Linked DNA regions of Homo sapiens: all the other regions are linked to region 2. Evidence: promoter capture Hi-C in 16 types of primary human blood cells and fetal thymus (Javierre and others, 2016). All regions are on one chromosome and are shown on one strand. The core of a region is centred on a gene start or on the middle of the fragment in contact, and the rest is flanking DNA. Distances in the headings are between cores, read along the strand shown. Region 1 overlaps NT5DC1 (5'-nucleotidase domain containing 1). Region 2 holds the start of CALHM5 (calcium homeostasis modulator family member 5). Region 3 overlaps NT5DC1 (5'-nucleotidase domain containing 1). Region 4 overlaps NT5DC1 (5'-nucleotidase domain containing 1). Region 5 overlaps NT5DC1 (5'-nucleotidase domain containing 1).

Region 1 (2,700 bases), core at 108-2,607, 280 kb before region 2:
TCTGTGGTTTTAGAGATGAAAAATCTGGATTGATGAAGCAGGACCAAAAGTCCTACCAGTCTCTGTAATGAAGACTGTAAAGTGCTTAGCAATCTCAGCGTATATAGGATTTCATGCTTTTTGTACAGATATTTAGAAAAATTTACCTCATTTTGGCCGGGAGCGGTGGCTCACGCCTGTAATCCCACCACTTTGGGAGGCTGAGGCGGACGAATCACCTGAGGTCAGGAGTTCAAGACCAGCCTGACCAACATGGAGAAACCTCGTCTCTACTAAAAATATAAAATCAGGCGGGCATGGTGGCACATGCCTGTAATCCCAGCTACTAGAGAGGCTGAGGCAGGAGAATCGCTTGAACCTGGGAGGCAGAGGTTGCGGTGAGCCAAGATCGCGCCATTGCACTCCAGCCTGGGCAACAAGAGTGAAACTCCGACTCAAAAAAAAAAAGAAGAAAAGTTTAGCTCATTTTTATCACATCCAGGAGGGCTAGATGTCTAAGGTTCTTTCCAGCCCTTGTTTTCTAGGCCTCTGATTTAAAATATTTCAGTGGAAGAAATATTTTTTAGAATTAAACCAAAATACTTTTTTCTATTTAGAATGCAAAAAAGATTGCGAGAACTATTACTAATTACAGGATTATACTGCACATACTTTAAAATCCCTACTTCATTACATTCTCTATTATGTGTCTATTCTGCTGCTGATTCTGATTCTGATTCGTCAGCTACCTCTAACTGCTTTACCTCCATTTCTGCTACCTTTCTCTTTTAATGTTGATATTCCCTAACATTCTGTATTTGGCTCTCCTTTCTTCTCCTGTTGTCCTTCAGCTCTCTACCACTGGGAAGCTTTTAACTATCATCTATATACTGATGGTTGACATTTCCTTGTCTCTGGGCTTCACATTTCTCTGACCTTCAGAAGCCCATTTCTATCTGTCTTCTAAAATCTTCACATCCCACAGCCCCAGGGTGGCAGGAAAGTTGATGTGCTTGCAACAGCTCATTAAATCCCCATCCCATTTTAGCATGCCCCTCTTCCCATATTCCATAATTACATTTTAGTTACTTTTCCAAGCACAGACTTTAACCAAGCTAGTAAGCAAAAACCACAATTACTTTTGCACTAACCTAAAAAATCAGTCATCCTCATTTCTTCCCTCCCTTTTAAGTTGTCCTTCTGTTTTCTCAGGTTTGTCCTCACTACATTCCCACCACTGCCCGCATCATCCCTTGTGTGAAATGGCACAATATTTAAGTCATTGCTCCAAATGGTTAAAGTAAAGTTAATGCAACTGAGCTGGCTGGGATGGAAGGCACAGCGAGCCAATCACGAAACACAGCATGGCCTTAGCGAGTCGCACAGGTTTGACGTCAGCGGTTGTCATGGTAACAGGGGCAAAGATGCTGATGCCAGTGTCAGTCAGGACTGAGCTCCTCCCTCCAGTCTGATTCCTGCCAGTGCTTAAGGATGTATGGAGGGGAGAAGCGTCTTCCAAGCAAAATCTTCATCCTCTGTTCTCTATCACGTGCAGTGCGTCACCAGATCCTCGCCAGTGCTGAGGGTGGGGATACGGGGGAATCTCTGACTTGCAAGATTAAATTATCATTGGAGAGGGAACGTGTCAGCCTTGTTCACCGCAGTGTCGCCAATGCTGCTAGCTCAGTTCCTGCCCCTGCCCACCATTGGGAGAATCATGAGCCAACTCTCTCTGTCTCTCCTCTCTCTCTCTCTGTCTCGTCCCTTGGCCTTAGCTGTCACCAATACACTGACTCTGACTCCCAAATCTTTCCCTGAGACCTGTTTTCCTGAGTCTCATACGCAGTTCCTCCTCCACACTAGGCAGCTCCACTCAGTGTTCTGATATCAAGCTTGAGATTCTCCTTCCGCCTAGAAACCAAAAACAACCAAACATGCCGGTCACCTTGTGTGTATTCTTTACTTAACCATCCATTAGAATTCTCCAGCTAATAACCTCCGTTGTCTTCACCCTTTTACCTCCAGTGTGCTATGCATTAAATCCTGCTTAATATACCTGGGAAATCTCTCATCTTTGTCCTCCTCTCCCTTTCCACTAGGCCATCTAACCCCTCCCCAACCTCTCTTCACTTTTCATTAGCACAGACTTCTATTTTTGAGTTCTTTAAAATTTCCCACATCTTTTTTTATTATTTACTTAGGCACAAATATATTTAATCACATGCACACAATATCTCATTGGCTTCCATTCCATATAGCATCCTAAGGCTAATTGTACAGTCTTGTTCCTAAATTACCTTTCCATCTTCCTTAACTCTATCTCCATAAAAGTACCCTTTACTCCTACTGAAATGATTGCCTTTTATTCTTATATCAAGTTTTTGTTCTCGCTATTCTGTCAACATCAGTGTTTCTCAGACTTTCATGTACACGTGAATCACCTAGAGATCTTGTTAAAATGGAGATTCTGATTCAGAGGCCCTGGTGAAACCTTAGATTCTGCATTTCTAAATAACTTGTCTGGTGAAGCAGATGCTACTGGTTGGAAGATCACACTTTGAGTGGCATAGATATATGTAGAATGCCTTCTCCCTTTCCTCTCTGGTGACTTCCTACCTCTTATTTAAGGTCAGACATACAAATCACACCTCCTTTGCGATACCTTCCTTCTGCAGCTCCAGTCAGAGCTGTTTCCTTCTCTGTATTGTTTAGTGCTTTCAC
Region 2 (2,700 bases), core at 107-2,606:
TTCTATGTATTTATTTATGAGACAGGGTCTTGCTCTGTCACCCAGACTGGAATGCAGTGGCATGATTTGGCTCACCACAACCTCAGCCTCCTGGGCTCAAGCGATCCTCCCATCTCTGCCTCCTGAGTAGCTGGGACTACAGGTGCATGCCACCGAGCCTGGCTAATTTTTTTTTGGTATTTTTTTGTAGAGAGGGAGATTCACCATGTTGCCTAGGCTGGTCTCGTACTCCTTGGCTCAAGCAATCCACCTGCCTCGACCTCCCAAAATGCTAGGATTACAGACATGAACCACGGCACCTTTCTTTCATTCTTAAAGAAAGAACTTTAAGTACTAAAAGTAGATCTACTATTCAGTCCAGCAATCCCACTACTGGGTATCTATCCAAAGAAAAAGAAGTCATTATATATTAAAAAAAAACACCTGCACATGTATATTTATTGCAACACAATTCACAATTGCAAAGATATGAAACCAATCTAAGTACCCATCAACTGATGAATAGATAAAGAAACTGTGGTGTATATATACCATGGAATACTACTCAGTCATAAAAAAGAATGAAATAATGTCTTTTGCAGCAACTTGATGGAGCTAGAGGCGTTATTCCAAGCGAAGTAACTCGGAAATAGAAAACCAAAAACTGTAGTTCTCACTTATAAGTGGAAATTAAGCTATGGGTACGTAAAGGCATATGGAGTGGTATAATGGACTTTGGAGACTCAGAAAGAGGGAGAGTGGGAAGGGGGTGAGGGATAAAAAAATACATATTGGGTACACATACATATCCGGTGATGGGTGCACTAAAATCTCATATATATATGTATATATATATATATGTATATTTATATGTATATTTCATCCATGTAACCAAAACCCACTTGTGCTCCAAAAGCTATTGATATATATATATATATATAATTTTCATATGTTTTTATATATATGAAAAAAGACAGCAAATCCCTGTCTTCCAAATCTCAAGTCATAGGAAGAGAAAAACATTCATAAAATTCTAGGTTTGGAGATTTGATTTGTCGGCTGAAACCTCTTTCTGTTAATGTTGATTCCTTACACTGGAAAATTCCTAGACTATTATTTGTATGAGTGAGAATTTCTTTTCTGATTTTCAATCCAAACCACATGGAAAGAAGGTTAAAATGGAGCCCGTGCACTTTGAATTTATTCTCAGCATTTAGGCTGCAGTATCACAGCCCAATTTCCACCAGTAGGAGGCATTATCTAAACATGTTGAGAAATATTCATTCCTAAGGAATGACATTGTTTCCTTATCTGGCTCAATTCAGTCTGAGAAGGACTGTTGTTTCTGATGAAGAAAGAGCTCCACCCTCGGCCACTGCCACAGCTGCTCTGCCAATAACAAAGGCACAGCATTTTCCCTCTGTGCATCTCCAACATGGATGCTTTTCAGGGCATTTTAAAATTCTTCCTTAATCAGAAAACTGTTATTGGCTACAGCTTCATGGCTCTGCTGACCGTGGGAAGTGAGCGTCTCTTTTCTGTTGTGGCTTTTAAGTGCCCCTGCAGCACTGAGAATATGACCTATGGGCTGGTTTTCCTCTTTGCTCCTGCCTGGGTGTTACTGATCCTGGGATTCTTTCTGAACAATAGGTCGTGGAGACTCTTCACAGGCTGCTGTGTGAATCCCAGGAAAATCTTTCCCAGAGGCCACAGCTGCCGTTTCTTCTACGTCCTCGGCCAGATCACTCTGAGCTCATTGGTGGCTCCAGTGATGTGGCTTTCTGTGGCTCTGCTCAATGGAACTTTCTATGAATGTGCCATGAGCGGGACGAGAAGTTCAGGACTCCTGGAACTGATTTGCAAGGGTAAGCCCAAAGAGTGCTGGGAAGAACTTCACAAAGTATCTTGTGGCAAAACTAGCATGCTACCTACCGTCAATGAAGAACTGAAACTCTCCCTTCAGGCCCAGTCTCAGGTAAGAAAAGACAAACTCGCCTTTTTCTCTCAGCATGAGCTCGAAGTATTCTCTCTGTGCTCCTTTCAGCCAGGGCTGTCTGTGTCCTGTCAGAATATTTTGAAACTAAATGGAAACTGAAACATGATGCAGCATTGAGACTATCTCAGGAAAAGCTTTTGAAAGGCTGGGTGGCTCAATAAAGTTGCTGACTGGATTATCTCTTTTCCGGTTCTGAAAAGAAAATATCCACTGGATTGTCCACATATAAATACTTAAGTACTTTAAAACAGTCTCTCTGGGTCTGTAAATAAATAATGCCTAACACTAAATCATAAATTGAGTGTTAATGGCAGAGCTGTAATTAGAAATTACTGCCTTCTATCAATTATTTACATTCAAGTTGTTTTCTCAAACACACACATGTATTATTCATCTATTAAAATGTAGCTGAATGAAATGAGTTATTACTTTTCAAAGTTGCATGTAATATAATTAGTGTGGAGATTCTCTTGAATGATTTCTGGCAACTGCTATCTCTGTGTATAAATATTGTCAAGATTGAGAAGAATTTTCCTTGTATGGTAGGAATCAGCAGTTTTTAAATAGCCTTCTGTGAAAAAGTGACTGTACTCTCTAGGGAGATTATGTTTTATACTCTTTGTGCTGTACAGCTAAAGGGGTTCTTAATTACTTCAGAAGCTCAAGATTTGGGCATTGTTTTATTTAACAGAAGGAAATCATATCTTTACCTAATTGATGCAGGG
Region 3 (2,700 bases), core at 133-2,632, 300 kb before region 2:
TCTGCTTCTGAACGCAAGTTATTTTTCTTTAACAGATAATGGTCATCAAATAAGTTAAATCTCAAACATATAGATTTAGACACATAAATGATGAGGTTTAGTGGATTAGGATTCTTGAGGACTCTATTCCATACCCAAGTTTGTTACTAACCGTAATTTTGAGCAAAATATGTGGTGGCTACTTAATCATCTTTAATATGACAAGGTTGAAGGGTGTGATTTCTAAGGCTCCTTTTAATTCTAGATATAATTAGAATGCATATTGATGGATACTTTTTTCCTCTGCAGAAATCTAATTTGGTGTTTCAATTTTCCTTTATGGCTTTTGAGTTCAGTGCCATGCTTAAAAGACTTTCCACATTGCAAGATTTTAAATAAATTTATATGTAAGGTTCAAAAAGAAGCTAATTTGATTTGTCAAAATTTATCCAAATTCTGAACTCTCACTTATTAAAATTCTGAACAACCTCAAACCCCTGAAATGTAATAATGTACCATGTGAAAAAAAAAAAGAGTAAAGATTTGTGGTGACCCTGTAGTTACCATAGAGTCCCCAAATGCCTTGTAACTGGGCAGTATTGCACAAGCTCCGAAAGCAGACCGCCTGCATTCAAATTCCGATTCTGCCACATGGTAGCTGTGTGACTTTGGGCAAGTTCCTTAGCCTCTCTGTATCTCGGATTTTCAGTTGCAAAACGGGAATCATATAGGACCTGTTCCTGGGGTCATTATGAGGATTAAATCCATTAATAGTTATAAAGGTCTTGGAACTGTGTTTGGCAAAAATAAGCACTCAGATTATGTCAGTTATTATGAGGATAATTATTATAAATAATCTATTTTAAAAGTGATATTAAGTTAAAACCATGGAAATGTTTTAAAATAAATGTTAATGCCATAGGAAATTCCTCAGATACAATGCTGAACAGAAACACAGGTAAAAAAAACTATATATGGTATGCTTAAAATTCCCACAGAGTTAGATATGAACAGAAAATATACTGGCAGGAATCACATAGAAGTATTAGTATGTTTGGCAGCTAGTCTACAAAGATAGCTCTCTAATGAATCATGCCTCCCAGAAGTCACACCTTTCTGTTTTCTTCTCCTTGAAAATGAGCTGGACCTCTATCATCAGTAAAATTCAGCAGAAGTGCTACTGTAAAATTCCTAAAACTAGGTCATAAGGAGCCTTGCAGCTTTTGCTTGTCTTAAAACACTTGCTCTGGGGGAAACCCACCGCCACTTAAGAAGTCCAACTACTGTGAGACCCAAATGCAGAGAGAAAGCTCAAGCTAGCTAAGTGGAGAGATGTTTGTTTCACCAGCTCTCACCGTTCCAGCCAGCCCAGCCCAGGTGCCAGACAGTGAGTGAAGAAACCCTTAGATGATTCCATACCCCCGGGCACAACTCCAAGTGAGAAATGCCTGGCTGAGTTCAGTCAACCCTCAGAATCAGGAGATGATAATACATTGTTATTTTAAGCCATCATGTTTGAGGTGGTTTGTTGTGCAGCAATAAAAAACCCAATACAATGAATTTTCTCTAGCAAAAGTGTATCATATATAAGAAAAGCAATAATTTAATCTCTTTAAATAGTTCTTTTTTCCATATAGGTTCAACAGTAAGAGTTGACTGTATTTTATGTATGTTTTTATATTGTATATTTGGTTATTCTTAATTAACCTACAAATTAATTTAACTAGAACAGCCATTCATTAGCCATGCCAAATAAGTATAAATGTATTGGACTTAGAATAATTTACATGTAAAAAATATAGAGTCCACGAAGTATATTTATTCCTGGACAAACTGTGTACAAATTCTGTACTACCTATTACAGAGAATTTCCTTTTTCTAAGACATTTTTATAAGATTTTTCTCGACTATAACAAAGGGAGGGATATTGGAATGTTTGCTTTGTTGTACTGTGCAAATCTAAGAGAATCTAAGTCTGTGGTTCTTCATGTCCCTAGCCTCAGGAATCTAATTAAAGCTAGAGAGCCTACACCTGCTCTGATCCCCCAACACACACAACACACTGATGAACAAAATGTTGCAAAGAGTATTGGGGTTTCATTCACGCAGTGAGGCCTGTGTATGGATTTTAGGATAAGAACCCAGGCTTAGGGCATTATTACTCCTCAAGCAATGTTGCAGAGTATTACACATAGACTATCCTATATATTTATGTTTGTTATATCAAAGAAATTATTTCATTATTCTAATACTATTTTATCAATTCTTTTTCAAATTTTTTATTAAAAAGTTAATAACTCTGTCAAAACAATTATCAGAGTTAAAATCTCACTGATTTGAAACTTTAGTATGTTCTTTTTTCCTTTTTCTTTTGTTATCATGGAGTAACTAGCCAGGTGATATTTTATGAAAGCATATAGAAGATATGACTGATACAAATACAGGTGGAAAAGTATAGTGAAAAACAGAGTAGTGCCTCATTAAAATAGCTGCTTAACTACTCTGTCTATGCAAGGTATAGATGTGGCACAGACCTAGGAGGCTAGAGAGGGCTTTCCTATTTATATAATACACTGTCTGGACATTGAACAAGTAATCCTTTGTGATTATAATCTTTATGTGTGTTCTGAAATGGATTGCTTCTAAGTGAAATACAACTCTGCATACTTTTGGCTTTATTAGTAAGAAAAGATATTTCTGAAGAAACTGAGGATATCTGAA
Region 4 (2,500 bases), core at 1-2,500, 390 kb before region 2:
ATGTCAAGACAATAAATAGTAACTGCAGAATATTTGTTCAAACTGCATATTTCTCTGTCACCTGCTTCTTTCCCTCCCAGGAGAAAATTACAACTTTGGGGTGATTTTGTCATTTTTCTATCCCTAGTCATCAGCCCTTGACCCTGACTCAGATTGCATGTGGTTTTGTGGGTACCTCTTCACAGTCAACAATGAGTGGTTGGGTCTGTGGGAATAAAGATGCATCACCAATATAGGGACATATCCATGACAACTGTAAAAGCCACCCATCACTTTATTGTCCTACTTTTTTATTAACTTTGAACAATGAAAAGCCTTGAAAGAATGGTTGAGAACAGCAAATTGCTGCTTTCAAATTAATTCAGCCTAAAAATCTATTGATGTTATTTTATTGCGTCGTAAATAAGGAGTAGGTAAAACATTTTGTGCTTTAATAAGTGAGGCACAGCTTAAAAGTTTTAAACAGCAATATAAAAATACAGTACAGTGCATAAATAAATAATATATCTCCACTTCTAGTCGAATTTTGAAACCCTCAGTGTAAATTATAACTTCACTTGAATGGGAGGCACAAGGTACATGTGCTAATGTTCTGTAAATCCAGAAAATCATATCACATAAGATTCAATAAGGAATTAAAGAAATCAAATTAATCACACTTGTGTTAACTAAATAAGAATAGGTCAGATACCTGTTTCCAAGTTATGCTGGGTATATAAAAAGCTTCTCTGCAATCATAGAAAAGTTTGAAAAGGTTCATTGATGAAAGCACCTTGCATTTCAGATGAACTTCAATATTTTGGGGCTTTTTTATATAAGAGCTTTAACAAGTATATATGCACCTGTATATTTGAATAGATATTGATGAAAGGGGCCATACAGGCCTCAGAGTAGTGCACCATCAGAAATATTTTAGGGGATACAGTGTCTTTTAAATTTGAATATTCAAGTATTTAAGTTCTACAAAGTTATATGATACCTCCTGGATGTTTCCTAGAAGTTCTCATATTCATAGTTAGAAACAGGCTTTTTTAAAAAGGAAATGCCGAGTTTCTCAAATCAAATTTCACATAACTTAGAGCTCTATTTCTGTTTTTTTTTTTAATTTTTTTTTTGTTGTTTGTTTTTTGTTGTTTGTTTTTAACATAGCAGGACTTCTTTGGTGATATTTTTTAATATTGGAGAAAACCTTAAAGAGCCTTAAGATTGCTAACTAGAAATTCAAGAGAGGCTTCACATACGTTTTTACGTTGCTGCTCACTTTTCAGGGGGAAGGTTTGTTGGTCTGATAGCTCAAATCTGTATTTCAGAAAATAAAAATTACATTCTTTTCAGCCTACCTCCATATGCATTTTGTAGGGTGGGGTAGAGTTAGAGAATGCTTTTTCTAGCACAAGATTTAGATTAGCTCTGTGTGTACTCACATTGGAGCCACTAGGAATCCTGAGAAAGAGGAGTGGACATACTCAGAGGAGTATAGGCCATTTGACTCGGCATTGGGAAGCTGGAGCCACACCTGGTCATTTTCTGTGAGATCGATGATGGCACTCCCTGAAGCCTGATCCAGGTAGCCTTTGGTGTATTCATCATAGGTGTACATTACAGGGGTGCCATTCTTATACAGGCCTACCCAAACATGAGTCCCTTTCACATGCACGTGGTATGAAAAATAGTATATTCCTGGTATCTGACAAGTAAAGATTCCAGTCCTTGGGTCATAATGCTGTTGCCTGTTATACAAAATTTTATCAAATGGTATGGGAGTTCCTATTGCTGGGTAAGCTTTGGAGAGAATAACAGTAAAAGCAGACACAGGCATTCCTGTTACCCCCTGGTTGGCACTAACAAGAGGGGTCCCAGAAAGACTGGGCCTTTGGCCTGCCTTTATAAAACCCTCAGGCATGACTGCTTGACCTGGTGGGCCTGGAGGCCCAGGGGGCCCTGGAAGACCAGGCTCTCCAGAGTGGCCTCTTGGACCTGGAGGCCCTGGTGGCCCGGTGGGTCCATTGAGGCCCTTAGTTGCTATGCCAGCTGGGCCAGGAGGACCGGGACTTCCTGGATCCCCTTTAGACCCAGGGAATCCTGGAATGCCTGGTGGCCCAATAGGGCCTCTAGTACCTGGTATTCCAGGGGCACCTCTTGGGCCAGCCTCTCCATTGTGTCCGGGCATTCCCTTTGCTCCTGCTGGGCCCACAGGGCCTGGGAGACCAGGAGGTCCTCCAACTCCAGGATCACCTTTTGGACCTGGTAACCCTGGGTTACCCTTAGGACCATCGAGACCTGGTTTTCCTGGGTACCCTGGTTTTCCATCTGACCCAGGGGAACCCCTTTCACCCTTAGCCCCAGGGTATCCTGCAGGCCCAGCTGGCCCTGTCTCACCTTTAGGGCCTGGGAGACCATGGCTACCCGGGATGCCTTTTGGTCCTTGGGGTCCCATATTCCCAGGGGGTCCAGTCAGACCTGGCTTCCCAGGAAGACCTGCTGGCCCTTGTTCCCCTTT
Region 5 (2,700 bases), core at 46-2,545, 320 kb before region 2:
TTTCAAGGATTTCTTTCAAGATTTAGAGCTTCTTATAGTGGTTCTTGTAGTTCTCTTTTGGTAATGGCAAATTCTCGCAGCATTTGTTTGTCTAAAAAAGACTGTGTCTTCCCTTCATTTATGAAGCTTAGTTTCACTGGATACAAAATTCTTATATGATAATTATTTTGTTTAAGGAGAACAAAGGTAGGACCCCAATGCTGTCTAGCTTGTAGGGTTTCTGCTGAGAAATCTGCTGTTAATCTGATAGGTTTTCCTTTAAAAGTTACCTGATGCTTTTGTCTCATAGCTCTTAAGATTTTTTTTTTTTTTCATCTTCACTTTAGATAACCTGGTGACTGTGTGCCTAGGTGGTGATCTTTTTGCGATGAATTTCCCAGGTGTTCTTCCCAGAGCTGCTTGTATTTGGATGCCTAGATCTCTAGCAAGGCTGGGGAAGTTGTCCTCGATTATTCCCTCAAACATGTTTCCCAGACTTTTAGATTTCTCTTCTTCCTCAGGAACACCAGTTGTTCTTAGGTTTGGTCATTTAACATAATCCCAAACTTATTGGAGGCTTTGTTCATTTTTATTTAATTCTTTTTTCTTTGTCTTTGTTGGATTGAGTTAATTTGAAAGCCTTGTCTTCGAGCTCTGACTTTTTCTTCTACTTGTTCGATTCTGTTGCTGCGAGTTTCCAGTGCATTTTGCATTTCTCTAAGTGTGTCCTTGACTTCCAGAAATTGTGATTGCTTTTTTATTTATGCCATGTATTTCACTGGAGATTTTTTCATTCGTATCCTGTATCATTTTTTTGATTTCTTTAAGTTGGACTTGTGCCTCCTTGATTGACTTAATAGTTGATCTTCTAAATTCTTTTTCTGGCAATTCAGAGATTTAGTCTTAGTTTGGATCCATTGCTGGTGAGCTAGTGTTATCTTTTGGGGGTGTTAACCATGTTTGTCATATTACCAGAATTGTTTTTCTGGTTCCTTCTCATTTGGGTAAACTATGTCAGATGGTAGATCCGGGACTCAAGGGCTACCGTTCAGATTCTTTTGTCCCACAGGGTGCTCCCTTGTTGTGGTGTTCTCCCCTTTCCCCTAGAAATGGCTCCCTGAGAGCCAGACTGCAGTGATGCTATTTCTCCTCTGAATCTAGCCACCCAGCAGAGCTACTGGGCTTTGATCTGGTACTGGGAAGTGTCTGCACAGAGTCCTGTGATGTGATCTGTATTCAGGTCTCTTAGCTGTGGCTACCAGCACCTGCTCCAGGAAAGGTAGCAGGGGAGCGAAGTGGACTCTGTGAGGGTCATTAGTTGTATTTTTGTTAAGTCCAACCAAAATTTTAACAAGTTTCTTTATAGAAAACTGAAGCTCATGCCACAATTTATATGGAAATGAAAAGGGCCATGAAGAGCCAAGACACTCATGAAGAACAGGGCAAGAGGGTCTGTCCTACAAGACACTAGCAAATAATTCATGGCTTATTTTAAAGTTACAGTAATTTGGTCAGAGTGCTTTTGGTATAAAGACTGACAACTAGAAGATCACTGAACCGGAGATGCCAGAAAAGACCTTTGCAGTTGTAGACACATGCTTGATGACAGAACAGGTACAGCAGAGCAGTGGGGAAAGGACTGTCATAAAGGGTGCCTGGAGAGTTGGAAATCTATGTAGAAATTCATAAAACTTGATCCCTACTCACATATTAGACAAAAATCAATTTCACATGGATTATAGAAACAAATATGAAAGGCAAATCAGTAAAGCTATCAGAAGAAAATCTGAGAAAAATAGCTTCATAGCTTAAAGATAATGAAATATTTCTTAAATAGGATAGAAACAGTATTGATTGATTGTAAAGGAAAAGTGAATAAATTTGACAAACATTAAACGTCTCTCTTCATAAAAAATTACTAAGAACGAAAGGGCAAGTTATAGAAGAGAAGATATTTGGAATACATATAATGATAAAAAGACTTTTATCTAGTGTAAAAAAGACCTATAAATCAGTAACAGGAAGACAGCAACCCAGTAGAAAATGAACAAAAGTCTTGACAGGCAGTTTACAAATAGGGAACTCTAAATGGCCAATAAACATGAAAATGTGCTTATGCTTATTAACAGTCATGAGAGTGCTAATTAAAGTTCAATGAGGTACCACTAGATATCCATCAGAATAGTTGGAATTAAAGAATCTAGTGATTTCAGTGGTTGGTGAGGATGTGAAGCAAAGAGAACCCTTAAACTGCTGGTGGGAGTGTAAATTGTTGAGTTGGTTTTGAAAATTGTTGAGTATTATCCTATAAAGTTGAAAGTGAGCATTCCCTATGACACAGCCATATTAGGCTGCAATATATACCATCCAGAATGTTCTTAGTGGCATTCACTATTACACCAAATTAGAGACAGCCCAAATATCCCTCAATAGTGCAGTTGCTATGCAGTGTGTCATACAGTGACATTCTATTCATCAATGAAAATGAAGCTTTATGAACAACATGAATGAATCTTAAAAACAGAAAATGAGAGAGAAAAAGCCAGTAATACAGGATATACATATTCTATGGTTGCATTTATAAAATAGATATTAAAATGGGTTACACTAGAGCATAATTAGGTAGTAAAGCCAGAAAAGTAAGGATGTACCATAGATATGAGGATAGCAATTACCTTTCAAGGGTGGTATCAGAGGACTTCTGGTATCCTGGAAATTTTC

The links. Contacts are between HindIII fragments. The CHiCAGO score rates a contact against its expected background, and 5 or more counts as called.
Region 1: a contact is called between a fragment that was not itself captured here and the fragment with the promoter of CALHM5 in region 2, in 6 of 17 cell types (neutrophils, total B cells, naive B cells and 3 more). The highest score is 10.3, in neutrophils.
Region 3: a fragment that was not itself captured here is called in contact with the fragment with the promoter of CALHM5 in region 2 in 1 of 17 cell types (total B cells); the score reaches 5.7 in total B cells.
Region 4: a contact is called between a fragment that was not itself captured here and the fragment with the promoter of CALHM5 in region 2, in 1 of 17 cell types (naive B cells). The highest score is 5.5, in naive B cells.
Region 5: a fragment that was not itself captured here is called in contact with the fragment with the promoter of CALHM5 in region 2 in 1 of 17 cell types (total CD8 T cells); the score reaches 5.1 in total CD8 T cells.

Annotation. Positions count from the first base shown.
Region 1 is chr6:116,228,073-116,230,772 of GRCh38, forward strand. The region is part of intron 8 of NT5DC1 (5'-nucleotidase domain containing 1); the gene reads left to right. Among named protein-coding and RNA genes, the nearest start is that of TSPYL4, 25 kb to the right of the region's middle. The HindIII fragment of the contact is 1,023 bases long and covers 847-1,869 here.
Region 2 is chr6:116,510,283-116,512,982 of GRCh38, forward strand. CALHM5 (calcium homeostasis modulator family member 5) reads left to right here and starts at 1,357. Exons shown (of 2, transcript NM_153711.5): 1 at 1,357-1,954. The coding sequence starts at 1,415. All of the region lies in intron 3 of TRAPPC3L (trafficking protein particle complex subunit 3L), which reads right to left. RefSeq lists an enhancer at 1,068-1,649. The HindIII fragment of the contact is 2,544 bases long and covers 1-2,107 here.
Region 3 is chr6:116,209,866-116,212,565 of GRCh38, forward strand. All of the region lies in intron 6 of NT5DC1 (5'-nucleotidase domain containing 1), which reads left to right. It also overlaps a transcript of COL10A1 not described here. Among named protein-coding and RNA genes, the nearest start is that of TSPYL4, 43 kb to the right of the region's middle. The HindIII fragment of the contact is 3,295 bases long and covers 1-2,700 here.
Region 4 is chr6:116,118,653-116,121,152 of GRCh38, forward strand. The region is part of intron 6 of NT5DC1 (5'-nucleotidase domain containing 1); the gene reads left to right. It overlaps COL10A1 (collagen type X alpha 1 chain), which reads right to left. Exons shown (of 3, transcript NM_000493.4): 3 at 257-2,500. The coding sequence ends at 1,421. Among named protein-coding and RNA genes, the nearest start is that of COL10A1, 6.2 kb to the right of the region's middle. The HindIII fragment of the contact is 1,059 bases long and covers 722-1,780 here.
Region 5 is chr6:116,186,004-116,188,703 of GRCh38, forward strand. All of the region lies in intron 6 of NT5DC1 (5'-nucleotidase domain containing 1), which reads left to right. It also overlaps a transcript of COL10A1 not described here. Among named protein-coding and RNA genes, the nearest start is that of COL10A1, 61 kb to the left of the region's middle. The HindIII fragment of the contact is 2,343 bases long and covers 125-2,467 here.